Linked DNA regions of Homo sapiens: region 1 is linked to region 2. The links are contacts of gene promoters, found by promoter capture Hi-C in human tissues and cell types (Jung and others, 2019). All regions are on one chromosome and are shown on one strand. The core of a region is centred on a gene start or on the middle of the fragment in contact, and the rest is flanking DNA. Distances in the headings are between cores, read along the strand shown.

Region 1 (2,700 bases), core at 16-2,515, 52 kb after region 2:
TTTCTAGGTTTTAAAATTCTATGCTAAGCAGCACATTTAGCACAAAACATGAACGTCTCTGACTAATAGTGGGAAAAAATTTTAAAAAACTATTTCTAATTTTCTCCCTGCAATTTAGTTACATTGTTAGTTACCTGGGATTTGTCTTCCTGTGCTTCCACTGGTTTTCTTCTCTTGTCACTCTCTCTGTGCAGAGGCTTAAACTCAGCCATTCACACTCTCATCCTGCTCTAGCTTCTTCTATCAGAAAGAAGAAAATATTTGAAGAGCCCCCTCCTACTTCATTGAGGCCTGAATAGGAATAAAGACATGGACTTGGGAGGGATGCTGTAAGGACAACAATCTCTGATGACCCAGCCCTGGACAAGCTTTCTTAAACTTGTGGCTAACTTATTGTGAGAATAGAAGGAGAGATGTATAAGTGGGTTCAATGTTTGTTTGGATGAATTAGACACCTGAGTTATACAAAGACAATGAGAATATATGTGCATTTGTCTCAGCCCTCATATAGAGAAATTGGCAAATTTTCATATCTGGCCATCCAAATGCATTCACAGGTAAATATGAACAAATCAAAAGGAGTAGTGCTTTATAATCTCAGAAAACAACTTTAAGAAAGTTAAATTTTCAAATATAAACAATACTATTAACCAAGCAACTTGTGCTATTGCTAAAATAACAAGGATAAATTCACTTGAAAACTTGCTGGAGGAAAGAGTTTTATTTACCTTTTTAATGTGTAATTAAGAAAGTTTTTAAAAACTTATATTTTGTTAATAATTACACAGAAAAAAAGAATGCGAAGAAACACAGCAAAGGAGTTGGATCTGTCTATATCTATCTATTGATCTATTGATCCATCCATCCATCCATCCATCCACCCATCCATCTGTATAATATAATTCTCTAATTTAAAATCAATAGCAATTCTTTTTGGTTCTGGGACTATCATTATTTTTTATTTTTAGACATTGCTCAAATTTTATTTTATAATGTAATGTACTTTTGTAGTATGAAAACAAAAACGCACAATGAAATAAGAAACATATTTTGCTCAAAAAGCTTTTCTTAGGAACGAACATGTAAATTGGGTGGTGAAGAATGAGCTTGAGTTTGAACTGAATTGGCAGTAGTTTCTTTAAATGTTGGCATCTGTCTTGACATAGTGATGGGATGATTTCCAGTTAAAACCATGGGCTGGTGTGGGTGGGAAGAACGAGTGGGGCTACTTTTGGTTTTTACCCAGGAAAAGCTTTAATTTATTTAAAGTTGCCAGGGATTAGGACACATTGTCAGATCCTCAGCCTCAACTTCAGTCCCTCAGAGCAGGCTTTCCTAACTCAGAAAGCCTTGTCAGAGGAGAATTTTGGGGAAAAAGTGGTCATGGTGAACCCATTGACTCTGAAACCACCTATTGCTTTATTTTCTATCCTTCTTTGCTAGAAAGGAAAGTTGATCCTTCTCTCTCTCTCTCTGTCTCTTTTTGAGACAGAGTCTCGCTCTGTCACCCAGGCTGGAATGCAGTGGCATGATTTCAACTCACTGCAACCTCTGCCTCCAGAGTGCAAATGATTCTCCTGCTTTAGCCTCCGGAGTAAGTGGGATTACAGGTGTGCCCCACTACACCCGGCTAATTTTTTTTTTTTTTTTGTATTTTTAGTAGAGATGGGGTTTCACCATGTTGGCCAGGCTGTTCTCAAACTCCTGACCTCAGGTGATCCACTTGCCTTGGCCTCCCAAAGTGCTGGGTTTACAGGTGTGAGCCACAGTGCCTGGCCTCTCTTCTCTTCTTTCTCCCCTCTTTTATTCTCTTCAGTTATTTTCTCTTCTCTCCTCCCCTCCTTTACTCTCTCCCACATATCACTTCCTTATTCATTTCCCTCCAGTTCTGCAAGATTGTCCCTGAAAAGGCAATGTGGAAAAGAAAGGCAGTTGTCCAATAATTCATGCAGAAACCTGCTACTGAAGAAATTCTTGTGTTTTTCTGGTGTTGGGTACCTGACCTATTCACATTGGTTGTGGACACTAATAAAAATGATCAGAAGGTGAATTGCTCACAATTATACTTTGTTTTGCCTGTGCAGATCCATATCAGTAGACATAGAGAAGACAAGAATTTGCCTCCAAGCAAATATATTCAGGTTTTCCCCATGAAAATCAAACTAAATGTTGGCATGTGCTTAATTTCTTTTAGGCTGGTTGCCTGACTTTTGTTAAGCTTGGCCTTCCTGTTTAGGCCCTGAGGTATTTGGGAGCACTGAATTTATTTACTTTCATAGCTACCTTAATTTTATTCTATTTCTTTTCTTTTTCTTTTTTTGAGACAGTCTCGTTCTGTTGTCCAGGTTGGAGTGCAGTGGCATGATCTCAGCTCACTGCAAACTCTGCCTCCCAGTTTCAAGTGATTCTCGTGCCTCAGCCTCCTGAATAGCTGGGATTACAGGTGTGCACCATCATATCCAGCTAATTTTTGTATCTTCATTAGAGACGGGATTTTGCCTCATTGGCCAGGCTGGTTTCATACCTCTGGCCTCAAGTTACCTGCCCACCTCAACCTCTCAAAGTGCTGGGATTACAGGCATGCACCACCACACTCGGCCTAATTTTTGATCTCACAGTACAGATACAGGTCCTGGGTTAGGTGAAGTTGAGTAACTTTGATCTTTGTTTTGGATTTTTAAGGGAATTGGGAATGAGCAA
Region 2 (2,700 bases), core at 201-2,700:
AGCTAAATATGTCTGGGGCCCCAGATGCCTTCTTATTGGAATTGTGCCCCCTCCAGTGGCAGTAAGCCAAGAGAAATGAGAGCGAGACCTACAGGTAGAAAAAATGAGACATAGAGAGAGACACAGGAAATCACAAGAGGAATAGAGGCTGAGCGAGACACACACACAGAGGCACAGAAAGAGACAGAGAGGGAAATAGAAAGTCAAGGAAAGAGTGATCAGAGAAAGACACACACACACACACACACACACACACACACACACACACACACACACACAGAGTGACACAGACAGAGAGACAGAGACAGAGAGACAGGAACTTCTCCGCCCTCAGCAACTGCCATCTCCCTGGGGCTGTCTCTCTCAGTTTCCACCGGGCCAACCTTCTCTCCTGGGCAAGGGGCGCAGCGCGGGTCCCCCTCGGGGCCAGCAGAGGCCTCGGCACCACCAGAGATGGGAAGAGAAAGTGGTCGCTGTTGCCCAATCAGCGCGTGTCTCCGCCACCCGGGACGGTCTACCCGTCGGCCAATCGCAGCTCAGGGCTCCTGACCAAGCTTTGGGTAAAAGAACTAATAAATGCTCCCGAGCCCGGATCCCCGCACTCGGTGTCACCACAGGAGGAGACTCAGGCAGGCCGCGCTCCAGCCTCACCAGGCTCCCCGGCTCGCCGTGGCTCTCTGAGCCCCCTTTTCAGGGACCCCAGTCGCTGGAACATTTGCCCAGACTCGTACCAAACTTTTCCGCCCTGGGCTCGGGATCCTGGACTCCGGGGCCTCCCCGTCCTCCCCTTTCCCGGGTTCCAGCTCCGGCCTCTGGACTAGGAACCGACAGCCCCCCTCCCCGCGTCCCTCCCTCTCTCTCCAGCCGTTTTGGGGAGGGGCTCTCCACGCTCCGGATAGTTCCCGAGGGTCATCCGCGCCGCACTCGCCTTTCCGTTTCGCCTTCACCTGGATATAATTTCCGAGCGAAGCTGCCCCCAGGATGACCACGCTGGCCGGCGCTGTGCCCAGGATGATGCGGCCGGGCCCGGGGCAGAACTACCCGCGTAGCGGGTTCCCGCTGGAAGGTAAGGGAGGGCCTCAGCGCGCCGCCTGGATCCCAGGGCCTGGGACCGGCTGCCTCACCCCATCCCCAGGCTCCGCAGGCTCCTTTGGTGCTTCCAGGAAGCCCATTCCCTGGGCACCCCACACCCCAAGAAGCACCAGTCGGGGGCGAGGACCTACTCGATTTCCTTTCTGCAAATGGAGCGCGCTGCTCTCTGCAAATCCTGGCGGAGCTGGGCGGTCAGGCCTGCGGCGAGCCGGGGAGACTTGTCCCTGTTGTTTTGGAAATGCCGCGGTGGAGAAGGAGGTGAACCGGCTTCTGAGCGGCAGAAGCAACTTCTCCGCAATTTGTCCATTCGAAATTGTCTCGAAGTTGTCTCGAAATTGTCCCGGCTGCGCCCACACTTGTGAAACATATGTTAGTTCAGGAAGTATTTTTTTTTTTTTGCCCTGCAAAGTTGTGGTGGCTAACGCCGCGCCATTGTGATTGGAATTTTTAGAATAATTAAATAAATTAGAATTCTATGTATCTCAAATAGCATCTAGAAGTTTCTATAACTTGTTTAGGAATCGCCTTTCCGTCCACTTGAAGATTCTGGGAATCCCGGGGAGGCAGGAAGTCTTGCAAGCCTGAGCCGTTTTCAATGGTTTTCCAGGTTAGGGCGCCCCAGCAGAGATGCTCATCGCCCCCGCCACCCACTCCCTTCACACCCAGCCTAGAGTAGAATGTAACACCCAGAGCAAGAATGGGGGCTGGGGGCCCAGGAACAGCCCTGCCGCTGCTGTGGTCTCTGTCCCAAGATGTAACAGGTGACACAGGCACTGCTGCTTGGGCCTCCTTTCTGGACCCTCTTTGACCCTTGGCTGCTGCACTTTTGGCTAGAAACCCCAAGGGCTATCAGCTGGCCCAAGTCCCTTAGAAAGGGAGAGATCCCAATTGGACAGGGATCGGTGGGAGCAGAGTTCATCAAGGCCAGCTCCTGGGTGAACTTCTCTTCGCCAGGAGGCTGTTTCTAGAGCAAGCTAGACTCTCTACCAGCTGCAGGGTCTCCTAAGTTGCCACTCCCCGGGCCCGAAGGGGAAGACGCTTTCTCTGGGGAGAATTATTTTGCCCCATTTGCTGTCTTTACACAAGATTACATGCGCTATATTGCTGAATAATTTGAACAAATGTGATTGAAAGGAGGTCTGGGTCTGGGAGTCCGATGTCGAGCAGTTTCAGCGTCGGTGCTGTAACATGAGGATAGGACAGAAGACTGCGAAATTACGTGCTGCTGTTCTTTGCTTTTTATTTTCCTCCAGTGACTTTTCCCTTGCTTCTCTTTTTCACCTTCCCACAGTGTCCACTCCCCTCGGCCAGGGCCGCGTCAACCAGCTCGGCGGTGTTTTTATCAACGGCAGGCCGCTGCCCAACCACATCCGCCACAAGATCGTGGAGATGGCCCACCACGGCATCCGGCCCTGCGTCATCTCGCGCCAGCTGCGCGTGTCCCACGGCTGCGTCTCCAAGATCCTGTGCAGGTACCAGGAGACTGGCTCCATACGTCCTGGTGCCATCGGCGGCAGCAAGCCCAAGGTGAGCGGGCGGGCCTTGCCCTCCTGGCTCCCAGACTGTGGTCCCCTGTGTTGGGGAAGACCGGGCGGGGGGTAACGGCTG

Evidence for each region. The method cuts DNA at HindIII sites, captures the fragments that hold promoters and counts their contacts. A contact is called where the count stands out against the background at its distance.
Region 1: a contact is called between a fragment that was not itself captured here and the fragment with the promoter of CCDC140 in region 2, in 1 of the 25 tissues and cell types used here (pancreas).

What each region holds. Positions count from the first base shown.
Region 1 is chr2:222,244,766-222,247,465 of GRCh38, reverse strand. All of the region lies in intron 4 of PAX3 (paired box 3), which reads left to right. Among named protein-coding and RNA genes, the nearest start is that of CCDC140, 52 kb to the left of the region's middle. The HindIII fragment of the contact is 4,267 bases long and covers 1-2,700 here.
Region 2 is chr2:222,296,897-222,299,596 of GRCh38, reverse strand. It overlaps CCDC140 (CCDC140 long non-coding RNA), which reads right to left and starts at 1,450. Exons shown (of 2, transcript NR_161172.1): 1 at 1,224-1,450. It overlaps PAX3 (paired box 3), which reads left to right and starts at 599. Exons shown (of 9, transcript NM_181458.4): 1 at 599-1,066; 2 at 2,384-2,619. The coding sequence starts at 982. RefSeq lists a cis regulatory region at 544-581 and a promoter at 1-999. The HindIII fragment of the contact is 9,119 bases long and covers 1-2,700 here.